Linked DNA regions of Homo sapiens: all the other regions are linked to region 1. The links are contacts of gene promoters, found by promoter capture Hi-C in human tissues and cell types (Jung and others, 2019). All regions are on one chromosome and are shown on one strand. Each heading gives the region's core, a stretch centred on a gene start or on the middle of the fragment in contact. The rest is flanking DNA. Distances are from core to core; before and after follow the strand shown.

Region 1 (4,363 bases), core at 509-3,008:
TAGTACAGCACTCGCATGCAGCGTTCTACTAAGTCGCGGGCCTCGGTCTGGCTTAGCACTGGCTGCTTCTCCAGAACTTCTCGCAGCAGAGGCTAGGGAGATTGGGGGAAAACCATGGGGGGATATTGGGCTGAATAACAGGCTAGTTGTCTCAAATCTATGGTATAAAAAGCATTAGAGTGAAAGATGACATTCTACTTCTTGCCTCACCAGAATGAACTCTGCTTAGAAAATAAGCTAAGAGCCACTTCAGGAAGAAGTTCTAGGGTGTCCTCTCTTTGCATGTCTACTGACTCCCAGTCATGTCATCTTGTCACTGGAATCAGTGTCAACACCTACAGCCCCCAGACTACAAAGAAAACCATCTGCCCAGTAATAGCGATCCCAGCCCATCCCTCATATCAGAATTTCAGGAGAAAAGCAGACAACCACTAATCCATTTCCTTTTGTCTTCCCTTTCCCCCACCTCTAGACTTACTACTTACCTGAGCCAAGTATGCACCATAACCAGTGGCCAGCGAAGGGGCTTCATAGGCTACACCAAGCATGTCCACATAACCGAGGAAGCTAACAGGACACAATGGGTCAAAACTCATTTCACCTTAGATTCATCTTAGCTGAAGAAGGGGACCATGGGGTCTGAGTTAAAGTGGGATTCACTTGGGGAGAAGAGACAGAAGAGATACTACACAGGTACTAGGTTGGGTGGTAAAGGAAATAAGTTATTTGTATTCATATGAACCTCTCTCCATCAGCATAGCCTCCGATGACCATGGTGTTCCACAAAGGGTTCATCTTCGAGCGCCGGCTGTACATGGCCCTGGTCAGCCATGAATGAATAGCTCTAGGACTATAGCTGTGTCCATCTCCCAGAAGCTCCTCATCAATCCTTAAAAGGAATTGGTTGTGAGAAAAGGGAGAGAATTAAGTCGGGGTCTCCACCCATCCCCAAAAGAAGTTACCACACCTTCCCCCATTTTACACCTAATGCCAAAAACTTTATTGCAAACACAGATCGCCCACCTCCAACAACTCTTCCAGTCCCCCGCTGCAACAAGTCCCCCCATCCCATCGAAGGGAATAAAAAACAGGGGACTCCCCTCTCTACTTGGGAACCACTCTCCTGTTCTCTGGATGACTTACACCATCTGGCCGAGAACTTGCTTCAAATACTGGAAATCAGCGTAGTCGCCAGAGGCACCCAGCATGGTACTGTTGTTGACTCGCATAATGCGAGAGATGTTGCGGAAACGAGCCAAGGAGCCGTAGGATCCCAGCATGTCTGCGGCAATCACCACTCCGCCCTCGAACTTAACGCCGAGGACTGAGGTCCCGGTCACCATGGGGTTCCTAAAGAGTGAGAACGGTGGGAGCTGAGAGGGGGGATGGACTGCGCCCTCTTTCCGCGCACTGAGCTGCGCTTCTGATTTTCTATAATTCCTTCCAATTATTCTGCATTCTCCAGGACTCCGCGCCCTGAGCTCCCCTGCCGTTCGCGCGCCCCCGGGGTCCCCGCCTCACCTTCCCGGGCTCTCAAAACCAGCCGGCAGCACCAGGCCCCACGGTCCCTCCCGCTACGCAAACGAAAGCGCCGAGAACTTACTGGGTCCGCGTGATTGGACCTCTGTAAAGTGCAGACGCCGGATCCATGAAGGAATCGGGAGTGGACGGAATGCGGTAAAACTGTCCTGGGGCCGGACCCCCCGCCCAAAGTCCGGACCGCGACCCCAAAAACGCTTCCATCTTAGTCACGGTAGCAGAAAAAATGAAAGCGCTTGCGCCAACGGAAGCGGAAGTGATCCTTCAGTGTCATTTCTTTCTTTTTCCTGTAGACGACTTCCAGCAGCCATGTTGATGAGGTCGTAGCTGAACATGCAGTAATCCTAGGTGGCGACCGAGACAGGGAGTTGAAATTGCCCAACATCGCTTCGCATCGCATCGCATCTCCGTGGAGTTTGGACCAGATCACAGCGTTCTAACACACGATTCAAGGAGGAGGGAGGCATGAAGGTGGGGTGGGGAGGTGGCCACTTAAAGACGCTGATCCTGAGTGAGACGTCACAATTTTTTATTTTATTTTTTATTTTTTTGAGACGGAGTCTCGCTCTGGCCCCCAGGCTGGAATGCAGTGGCGCGATCTCGGCTCACTGCAACCTCCGCCTCCCAGATTCAAGCGATTCTCGTGCCTTAGCCTCCCGAGTAGCTGGGATTACAGGCGCCTGCCACCACGCCTGGCTAATTTTTTGTATTTTTGCTAGAGATGGGGTTTCACCATGTTGGCCAGGCTGGTCTCGAACTCCGGATCTCAGGTGATCCGCCTGCCTCGGACTCCCAAAGTGCTGGGATTACAGGAGTAAGCCGCCTCGCCCGGCCTAGAAGTCACAGTTCTCATGTTCCTTTTGTATCATTATCAAAAAGCCCACATGAAAATATCAGTGAACACAGGATCTCTTACATCTGTACTCCTCAGAGCAGCCCCATGTGGCAGGCATTATTCGACCCATTTGGTAAATAGGAAACCGAGGCTTGCGGTGTAGTGATTTACCCAGTCACACAGCCGATAACGGTAGAACTGAATCTTGAAGCTAGAATAAAAAAAGGAATCAGGGCCGGGTGCGGTGGCTCATGCCTGTAATCCCAGAACTTTGGGAGGCCAAGACGGGAGGATCACTTGAACCCAGGAATTCAAGACCAGCCTTGGCAACATGGTGAGACCTCACCTCTACAAAACAAAACAAAACAAAAAATTAGCCAGGCCTGTAATTCCAGCTACTTGGGAGGGTGAGGTGGGAGAATCGCCTGAACCCGAGGGAGGTTGCAGTGAGCCAAGGTGGCGCCACTGCACTCCAGCCTGGGCAACAGAGCGAGACCCTGTCACAAAAAAAAAAAAAAAAAAAAAAAAAAAAAGAATACACTTGTGTATACCCTGTGGGGTGTGATAGCTCAGGTGGATCAAGCACTCTCTGTGGGACCTTAGACAAGTCTGAAAGTTTCCTTATTGTCAAGGGCCCTTGCCCACCTCTAAAGAAACAGAAAAATTCCATTGGAAGTGTAGGGGTGAAACTAAATTCCAGGGGTTTCCTTCTCAGTGTAACTCCATAGCAGGGGCTGGAAACTGTCTTGAATCAAACTGGTGAATTTTGTCAAAGATAAACAAAGCCGGACACTAAAGTGGAAAGGACAGATTTCAATCAGTAATAACTACTACAATAAGGAAAAACAGTTCAGCATGAACTGAACTCAACTGCAATTTGTATGCAAGTAATGGGTATTTTATAGGGAAAATGAGGTTAGGGGACAGTGAGACAGAGGGTCAGTAGAGTCAGGGAAGTGAACATTTACAGAATTAGTCAATGTAAATGTGCTTAGGTCAATGATGTCTGCTAGCTGGCATTTATGGAAGTTAGGATTCCATCCTCCCACAGAGACTGGTGAGGATACCATCCTCAACACTGTCCTTAGGTGTCTTTTGTTTGTTTGTTTTTTGAGACAAGGTCTGGCTCTGTCACCCAGGCTGGAGTGCAGTGGCATGATCTCGGCTCACTGCGACCCTTGCCTCCCCGGCTCCAGCGATCCTCCAGCTGCAACCTCTCGAGTAGCTGGGGACTACAGATGCCACACCCGGCTAATTTTTGTTTTTGTTTTTTTTCTTTTTTTCTTATTTTGAGAGGGAGTCTTGCTCTGTTGCACAGGCTGGAGTGCAGTGGCACGATCTCAACTCAAAGCAGCCTCCGCCTCCCTGGTTCAAGCGATTCTCCAGCCTCAGCCTCCTCAGTAGCTGGGATTACAGGGGTGCACAACCATGCCCAGCTAATTTTTTTTTTGTTGTTGTTGTTGTATTTTTAGTAGAGATGGGGTTTCATCACACTGGCCAGGTTGGTCTCAAACTCCTGACCTCAGGTAATCCTCTCACCCCAGCCTCCCAAAGTGATGGAATTACAGGCGTGAGACACCACGACCGGCCTAATTTTTGTATTTTTTTGTAGAGACCAGGAGAGATCTCACCATGTTGCCCAGGCTAGTTTCAAACTCCTGAGCTCAAGAAATCTGCCCACCTCAGGCCGGGCGCGGTGGCTCATGCCTGTAATCCCAGGACTTTGGGAGACTTAGATGGGCGGATCACCTGAGGTCAGGAATTCAAGACCAGCATGGCCAACGTGATGAAACCCCATCTCTACAAAAAATACAAAAATTAGCCGGGTGTGGTGGCACACGCCTGTAATCCCAGGTACTTGGGAGGTTGAGGCAGGAGATTTGTTTGAACCCAGGAGACAGAGGTTGCAGTGAGCCAAGATTGCACCACTGCACTCCAGCCTGAGTGACAGAACTAACGAAACGCTGTCTCAAAAAAAGGAAAGAAAAG
Region 2 (4,430 bases), core at 1,727-4,226, 130 kb after region 1:
CTTGCTGTGCTCCTTTCTCAGAAAGCTACTGGATGACAAATTCTACTAAAACAGAGGATGAAACAAAGGAAAACCAAAATATGGCATCCAGGAAATAAGTGAGTCCCAGGGTGAAGGTGCAGGGAAGGGCCAGAACTAAAACTTTGCAGCAGGTCGAGGACAACCAATCCACATTGGAGCAAGCTCAGGAGGCCATCACGTGAGGTTAACAGGTTACCTACTGTATTTGACCAATGAGAGGAGGTTTCTATTTCTCATGGTAAAAGAATAAAAACAAAAACAATGGGCCGGGCGTGGTGGCTCAAGCCTGTAATCCCAGCACTTTGGGAGGTGGTGGCTCAAGCCTGTAATCCCAGCACTTTGGGAGGCCGAGGCGGGCGGATCACAAGGTCAGATCCAGACCATCCTGGCTAACACGGTGAAACCCCATCTCTACTAAAAATCCAAAAAATTAGCCGGGCGTGGTGGCGGGCGCCTGTAGTCCCAGCTACTCGGGAGGCTGAGGCAGGAGAATGGCGTGAACCCGGGAGGCGGAGCTTGCAGTGAGCCAAGATCATGCCACTGCACTCCAGCCTGGGTGACAGAGCAAGACTCCGTCTCAAAAAAAAAAAAAAAAAAAAAAATGCTAGGTGTGGTGGTTCAGGCCTATAATTCCAGCACTTTGGGAGGCTGAGGTGGGCAGATTGCTTGAGCTCACGACCAGTCTAGGTAACCTGGCGAAACCCCGTCTCTACAAAAAAAATATAAAAATTAGTCAGGCGTTGTAATCCCAGCACTTCAGGAGGCCGAGGCAGGTAGATCACGAGGTCAGGAGTTCAAGACCAGCCTGGCCAAGATGATGAAACCGTCTCTACCAAAAATAAAAAAATTAGACGGGTGTGGTGGCACATGCCTGTAATCCCAGCTACTTGGGAGGCTAAGGCAGGAGAATCGCTTGAACCCAGGAGGCGGAGGTTGCAGTGAGCAGAGATCGTGCCATTGCACTCTAGCCTGGGCAACAAGAGCGAAACTCTGCCTCGAAAACAAAAAAAAAACTAAATTATAATATTCTATAGTAAACAGTATAGATAATGGCTAAAATGGAAAAATTAAGAAATAGCCATATAAGTTCATTCTTTGGGAATAAGGAAGTAAGCACAGGAAGAGCTAGCTAAAGAAGTTAAATTGATTACTTCTGGGAGTAGACCTCAAGAGTGCAGAGGGGTAGGGCAGGACCCTACCAATTTTTATTACAAATCTAACTTTTAAAACTATATAGGCCAGGCACGGTGGCTCACACCTATAATCCCAGCACTTTGGGAGGCCGAGGTGGGAGGATCACTTGAGCCCAGGAGTTCAAGACCAGCCTGGGAAACATAGACCGCATATCTATAAAAAAAATTAAAAATTAGCCAGGCATGGTGGTACATACCTATAGTCCCAGCTACTTGCGAGGCTGAGGCATGAGAACTGCTTGAGCCTGGGGGGCAGAGGTTGCAGTGAGCCAAGACAGTGCCACTGCACTCCAGCCTGTGCGACAGACTCCATCTCAAAAAAAAAAAAAAAAAATTAGCTGGGCGTGGTAGTGTGTGCCTTAGTCCCAGCTATGCAGGAGGCTGAGGCAGGAGGATCCTTTAGGCTAGGAGGTTGAGGCTACAGTGAGCTATGATCACACCACTGCACCCCAGCCTGGGTGACAGAGCACAGACTTTGTTTAAAATAAATAAAAATATATATATATATTTTTTAATTTTTTATTTTTTGAGAGTCTCCCTCTGTCGCCCAGGCTGGAATGCAGTGGCATGATCTCAGCTCACTGCAACCTCCGCCTCCTGGGTTCAAGCAATTCTCCTGCCTCAGCCTCCTGAGTAGCTGGAATTACAGGCGTGTGCCACCACACCCGGCTAATTTTTTTTCTATTTTTAGTAGAGACGGGGTTTCACCATATTGGTCAGGCTGGTCTCAAACTCCTGACCTTGTGATCTGCCCACCTCGGCCTCCCAAAGTGCTGGGATTACAGGTGTGAGCCACCGCACCTGGCTGAAAAAAAAAAAAACTTTAAAAAAAATTATAAAGGGAATAGATGTTCCTTGTAAAATAATATTTAAACCGTATAATATAAAGTCTCAAGGTAAGGTTACTTGTAGAGTGGATTTTATGCATGTACACTGAGAGGAAAACGCCAGCAGGGTGTTTAGGACAGCAGAGACTCAGGAGACAGCATAACTGATGCAGGGAGGTGCTGGCAGGAGGGAGGGAGCCAGAACTTCCTGCCTCACGGCCTTGACTCTCTGTAAAGATGTCAGGCTTCTGTTGAGAGTGATCGGGGAGTAGAGGAAGGTATAGTAGTTGCTACAAGGAACTGACTTGCAGGGCTGAGCAGAGTCACTGAAGGCAGCTGACCAATGGGAAACTACTGTTTGGTGGTGATTCAACTCCTGGCGAGACAGGTCTGAGACAAGTTTGGATTTTGATCCTGGTTCTGCCTCTTCATTAGCTAAATATCCTTGGCCAAATAACCTAAACTTGCTGAACCTCAGAAGTCCACATGAAAAAACTGAAAAGGTTGAGTATCATTCCATGCTTGGGGTTCAGCTGTGTGAGTGCAGAGTAAAAGTTATTGGCAAGAAGGTGGTTTAAATAAGGTCTTCGTTCATTAGAAATGGAAACCTGGCTCCTGGGCCTGTAATCCCAGCACGTTAGGAGGCCCAGACAGGTGGAAACAGAGACATAGAGAACTCAACAAGGAAGGTTCTCCTTCAGGCCAGGGACTCCTCCCCTCTCTCACACTCAAAACCATCAATATTTGAAGCAAAAAAGGAAAAAAAGTTGCCAAGCTTTATTTAGGCTGTAATGGTTACAGATAACACACATCTAACCCTATATTCCGTGCTTCCCATGCAGTCCCCTAAGCAGACTCAGCTACCCTTTCCCTCCAGTCTCACTTCTTGTCTTCCTCCTTCTTGTCCTTCTTGCCGTCCTTGGTGGCCTGGGAGGCCAGGGAGCCCATAGCATTTCGAATGGCTTCATTGTTGGGATCCACACCTGGGAGGTTCTCTAGGACACTCTGAAGGAACTCGGGGTCCTGCATCACGTCGTAATCATCCTCCTCCTGCAAACAGGCAGTGTGAGCTCAAGGGAGGGTATGGAGCGGCAGGAAGTAAGCAGGTGTTAAGGACAGGAGCATGCCGCTGCCAGAGGCCCCCTGCCTTCTGACTGTGTGGGGATCTGGGCACCTCTGGTCGACGTAAGGAAAGGACAAGTCAGCAAAATCCTTTATACAGCATGAATGCAGTTATTACTAACCAAATAGAGGGGCCTGCTGAGAACTCTGTTAATTGAGCTCTGAGGAGAAAAACAGATGCCATCACATTGAGGTTTCCTGCTCTCAAGACACCCAGTTCTCCTTTTTCTTTTTCCCAGACCCGCTTTTTTCCCTCCTGGGAAGACATCCTAGAGAACTGCCCAGGCTGCTCCCACCAGCAAGAAAGGAAAATTACAGAACAAGAGGACATTTCTCCAACTCTGACCATTAGCATTGCTACCTTAGCAAGGTTTACATGTAAGAAATGCAAATCCATGTGTTTCCCTCTGCTCCTCAAAGGACTTAGCTATGGTAGAAATACTCCCAGCCCCAGAGGGATGAGGATCTAAATTCAAGGACTTTAAACCTGATGGGGGCAGGGTTGGGTCTCACCTTGGCTGGCTCAGATGTGTCCATAGCTGAGCTGGCATCAATGTCTGCTGATTCCGCCTGGCCAAACTCTGAGGAAGAGAGGTCAGTCTGTTCAGTTACACTTCCTCACCCCAACCTCTGCCTAGGCACCACCCAGGCTCTGGCTCACCTGCTCCCTGCAGGGACATCTGCATGGCATAAGCAATCTGCTCTTCCTCAGTCATACTGCTTAGGTCAGGAAGCCCAGTGCGGCCAAACTCTTGCTGGCTGATGGTCATCTTCAGCAGGGCATCGTCTGAGTCTGGGAAAAGGAAAAGAGGAGCAGGGTAGAATTGGTGCCATATCCACACAGGCCAGCCTCCAAGGCCATTCCTAGCCCAGCCCTCCCACATATTCCTACCCTGTCAGACCTCCACACTCTCCCTGCAGTGCCTACACCCAGCTTTCAATGTTTAGCATCCCGCAGTCCCAGGACTTCGGATTCCACCTCTTTCACCTTCAGTCCCAGTCGTAGCAATCCCGGCCTCAGCAGCAGAAGCTGCAGCTGCCCGCCGGGCCTCCTCCTCCTGCCGCTGCCGCTGCTCTTCCATAGATACACGAAGGGCCTGGTGAAGGGCAGGGCATAATCAGGGCTCCCCTGCCCTCACTCCTACAGGGAGCTGGGAAAGTCAGTTGGGGTGTGGGAAAGGAACATAAAGGGGCAGCTTCTGGTTTATCACACAGAGAAGAAGCTGGAGGGATAAGCAGTGGTACGGGATTAAAAAGTAAGGACTTG
Region 3 (4,101 bases), core at 1,090-3,589, 210 kb after region 1:
AGCCACCACACCCGGCCAAGAACACTAGAATTTATTCCTCCTATCTAAATGTAATTTGGGGCCAAGCGAGGTGGCTCACACCTGTAATCCCAGCACATTGAGAGGCTGAGGAGTGGGGATCACTTGAGCTCAGGTGATCACCGTGGGCAACATGATGAAATCTCATCTCCACAAAAAGTACAAAAAATTAGCCAGGCGTGGTGACACGAGCCTGTAGTTCCAGCTACCCACGAGGCTGAGGTGCGATGATCACTTGAACCCAGGAGGTCGAGACTGCAGTGAGCAGTGATTGCATCACTGTATTCCAGCCTGGGTGACAAAGTGAGATCCTATCTCAAACAAACAAACAAACGAACAAACAAATGTAATTGGGGGCCAGTGTGGTGGCTCACAGCTGTAATCCTAGCACTTTTGGAAGCCAAGGTGGGAGGACAGCTTGAGCCCAGGAGGTCAAGGAGGCAGTGAGCCATGATCCTGCTGCTGCACTCCAGCCTGGGCAATAGAGACCCTGTCTCAAAAAAAATTGTAATTTTGTGTCTTTTTTTTTTTTCTTTTGAGATGGAGTCTTGCTCTGTTGCCAGGCTGGAGTGCAGTGGCACAATCTCAGCTCACTGCAACCTCTGCCTCCCGGGTTCAAGCGATTCTCCTGCCTCAGCCTCCCTAGTAGCTGGGACTACAGGTGCGCGCCACCACACCCAGCTAATTTTTGTATTTGTAGTAGATACGGGGTTTCACCATGTTGGCCAGGATGGTCACAATCTCTTGACCTCGGGATCTGCCCGCTTCAGCCTCCCAAAGTGCTGGGATTACAGGTGTGAGCCACTGTGCCAGGCCCAATTTTGTCTTTTTTTTTTTTCTGAGACGGAGTCTTGCTCTGTTTCCCAGGCTGGAGAGCAAATGGCGCGATCTCGGCTCACTGCAACCTCCGCCTCCCGAGTTCAAGCAATTCTCTGCCTCAGCCTCTCGAGTATCTGGGATAACAGGCGCCCACCACCACGACCAGCTAATTTTTGTATTTTTAGTAGAGATGGGGTTTCGCCATCTTGGCCAGGCTGGTCGTGAACTCCTGACCTCATGATCCACCCCCTTCGGCCTCCCAAAGTGCTGGGATTACAGGTGTGAGCCACAATTTTGTGTCTTTTAACAAATCTTTCCCTGTCCCTTCCTTCCCCCTGCTCTTCCCAGCCTCCAGTATCCTCTGTTCTTTCACTTCTATGAAATCAACTTTTTAAAAGCGTCACATATGAGTGAGAACATGCAGTGTTTTAACTTTCTGTTCGTGGCTTAAGTCAGTTAACATGTCCTCCAGTTCCATCCATGTTGCTGCAAATGACAGGATTTTCTTCTTTTTAATGGCTGAAAAGTATTCCATTGTGTATATACACCCTATTTCCTTTATTCATCTGTTGTTGGACACAGAGATTGATTTCCTATTTTGGCTACTCTAAGTAGTGCTGCAATAAATATGGGGGTGCATAAATATGGAGTGCAGACGTCTCTTGGATATACTGATTTCCTTTTTTTTTTTCCTCCTAAATTGGCTTCCTCAGGTTGAATTATGTCCTTTCCTTTGGATAAATGTCTATGGCTGTGTTTTTAACCACAATACTATGCTTCCTTCCTCAAGGATTTTTGACTTTATCTTGTAGATGATGTGGAGCCATTAAAAATGTTTGAGGACAGGAGTGGCAAAACGTGGGTTTTTAGAAAGTTTCCTACTAGCAGCAGTGTAGAAAATGGACTGGAGCGGAGAGAATGACCTCTTCTAAAAGAAAATGTGAGCTGGGGGCGCAGGCTTATGCCTGTAATCCCAGCACTTTGGGAGGCCGAAGCGGGCGGATCACCTGAGGTCAGGAGTTCGAGACCAGCCTGGCCAACACGGTGAAAGCTGTCTCTACTAAAAATACAAAAATTAGTTGGGCATGGTGGCGGGCGCCTGTAATCCCAGCTACTCGGGGGACTGAGGCAGGAGAATCGCTTCAGCCCGGGGGACGGAGGTTGCAGTGAGCCGAGATCGTGCCACTGCACTCCAGTCTGGCGACAGAGCGAGGCGAGACTCCGTCCCTACGGAAAAAAAAAACCATATATATATATAAAATAAAAATAAATAAAATAAAATGTGTTGACTTAGGGTTATGGGGGTCTTCGTACCACCAAGTGGACTCATTGAGCAAGGGAGATCGCTGGGTACTAGAGCAAGCGGCCTAGAGCATCCGCGCAGGAGTAGGAGAGGCTGAAGAGTAAAGAGGGTTTAGAGGGTGGGACTGGGAGTCTCTCGACACTCTGTTACTTCTGCCTGTAAACGCCCGACTTCCGCCGCTGGTGGCCACCCGCAGGTAGTGATGTCGAGCGTCGAGCTCCCAAAACCGAGCTGGTGAGGGGCTGCAGGTGGCGGCGCAGTCTCGGTAGGCGGTATGAGTTTGGCTGGGGGCCGGGCACCCCGGAAGACCGCTGGGAACCGGCTTTCTGGGCTTTTGGAGGCAGAGGAGGAAGATGAGTTCTACCAGACGACTTATGGGGGTTTCACAGAGGCAAGATCCGGGCCTGGGAAAAGGGAGGGGAGGAGGCAAAGAGGAGCCCTGAAGGGAGAAACCCCGGACAAAGAAGAAGAGGGCGGGGAATAGAGAGGAGCTCTGGGAGCTGATACTCGAGTTGGGTGGGTGAATCGGAGCCGGGGGGCGAGGCGGGGGAACGGATAGTGTGGAGTCCTAGAAGGGAGAGCTCTGGATGGGGTCAAAGGGGCCTGAGACGGAGAAGCTCTCCGGAGGCACTCCAGAGAACAGAGAACGGCAGAAACCTACCGTATACTTGCGTGGTTGCATCTTTCACTGTACTTCTGACGTCCAGCATACACGAGGCACACACATAGTAGTAGACAGTTGCTCGATGTATACTCGTTGGCCCACTGCTGGATTATTCACCTGAGACATGGAAAGGAACCGCTCCAAAAGTAGAGGAGCTTAGCCCACTTCTTTTTCAGCTTTCAGGTCTCAGTGTAAATGTTTTCTCAGGAAGATAACCCTTCCTTGACTATCCTAACAAGTGTCCCCATTTATTTCTTCCACAGAACATATTTCAATTTGCAATTAGATTTGGTTTGCTTACTTGCTTATGCTTTTCTATTGCATTGTAAACTGTATAAAGTTAGAGATGGTCTGTTTTGTTCAACATTATGTGTGAGGTGTCCGGACTGGGCTGCCACTTGCTAAATTTTTATTAGTTGAATCTACCCGTTTATTAAATGTGTTGAGTACCCAGAGCATGCCATCGGTAATAGGTTGTTTTAGGCTCTAGGGAAACAGAATATTAAAAACAGTGCTCTGTCCTTACATACTCCATGCCCCAGTGGGGTAACTGCCTGGGTTAACAGTTAAAATACTGTGTGATAGGCCGAGCACAGTGGCTTTGGCCGGGCACAGTGGCTCACGCCTGTAATCCCAGCACTTTGGAAGGCCGAGGCGGGTGGATCACAAGGTCAGGAAATCGAGACCATCCTGGCCAACATGGTAAAACCCCCTGTCTCTATTAAAATACAAAAATTAGCCAAGCGTGGTGGTGTGCGCCTATAGTCCCAGCTACTCAGGAGGCTGAGGCAGAGAATCGCTTGAACCTGGGAGGAGGAGGTTGCAGTGAGCCGAGATCGTACCACTGCACTCCAGCCTGGGCGACAGAGCAGGACTCCGTCTCAAAAACAAACAAAAAATGTGTGATAAGGACTAAAACAAGGTGTAAGAGTGTTAAGGTAATACATCTGAACCAAAGTTGTTGATCAGGATAGGCATCCCTGGAGGGATGATGTTTAAGCTGAGGACAGTTTGAAAAGTAGACCTTAGCTTGATGAAAAGCAGGAGAAGGAGAAAGGTTAGTCCACAGAGCAGGATGGGCTGAGTATGTAAAGACATTGAGATCCTGGTCTAGGACCTGCAAGTCTACTTTCATTCTCCAGAGCATGAAGGAGACTAAAGATTGATAAGCCTGCAGGGAGTAGGCATGGGCCAGATCCTTTAGGGCCTTGTGAGCTATGTTAAGGAATTTTGCTCTTCATCCAGAGGACTGAGAAGAGTCATCAGAATTCCACGATGAAATTTGTACTTTAGGAAG

What was found. The method cuts DNA at HindIII sites, captures the fragments that hold promoters and counts their contacts. A contact is called where the count stands out against the background at its distance.
Region 2: a contact is called between a fragment that was not itself captured here and the fragment with the promoter of PSMB4 in region 1, in 2 of the 25 tissues and cell types used here (lymphoblastoid cells and mesenchymal stem cells).
Region 3: a contact is called between the fragment with the promoter of VPS72 here and the fragment with the promoter of PSMB4 in region 1, in 2 of the 25 tissues and cell types used here (adrenal gland and hippocampus).

Annotation. Positions count from the first base shown.
Region 1 is chr1:151,396,968-151,401,330 of GRCh38, reverse strand. It overlaps PSMB4 (proteasome 20S subunit beta 4), which reads right to left and starts at 1,758. Exons shown (of 7, transcript NM_002796.3): 1 at 1,604-1,758; 2 at 1,144-1,350; 3 at 743-889; 4 at 486-567; 5 at 1-92. The coding sequence starts at 1,743. RefSeq lists a silencer at 1,031-1,188 and enhancers at 957-1,678, 2,029-2,078, 1,679-2,401. The HindIII fragment of the contact is 13,788 bases long and covers 1-4,363 here.
Region 2 is chr1:151,265,834-151,270,263 of GRCh38, reverse strand. It overlaps PSMD4 (proteasome 26S subunit ubiquitin receptor, non-ATPase 4), which reads right to left. Exons shown (of 10, transcript NM_002810.4): 7 at 4,152-4,260; 8 at 3,825-3,956; 9 at 3,677-3,744; 10 at 2,785-3,091. The coding sequence ends at 2,921. Among named protein-coding and RNA genes, the nearest start is that of PSMD4, 13 kb to the right of the region's middle. The HindIII fragment of the contact is 5,567 bases long and covers 193-4,430 here.
Region 3 is chr1:151,188,435-151,192,535 of GRCh38, reverse strand. It overlaps VPS72 (vacuolar protein sorting 72 homolog), which reads left to right and starts at 2,339. Exons shown (of 6, transcript NM_005997.3): 1 at 2,339-2,531. The coding sequence starts at 2,415. RefSeq lists enhancers at 2,195-2,254, 2,295-2,364. The HindIII fragment of the contact is 20,238 bases long and covers 1-4,101 here.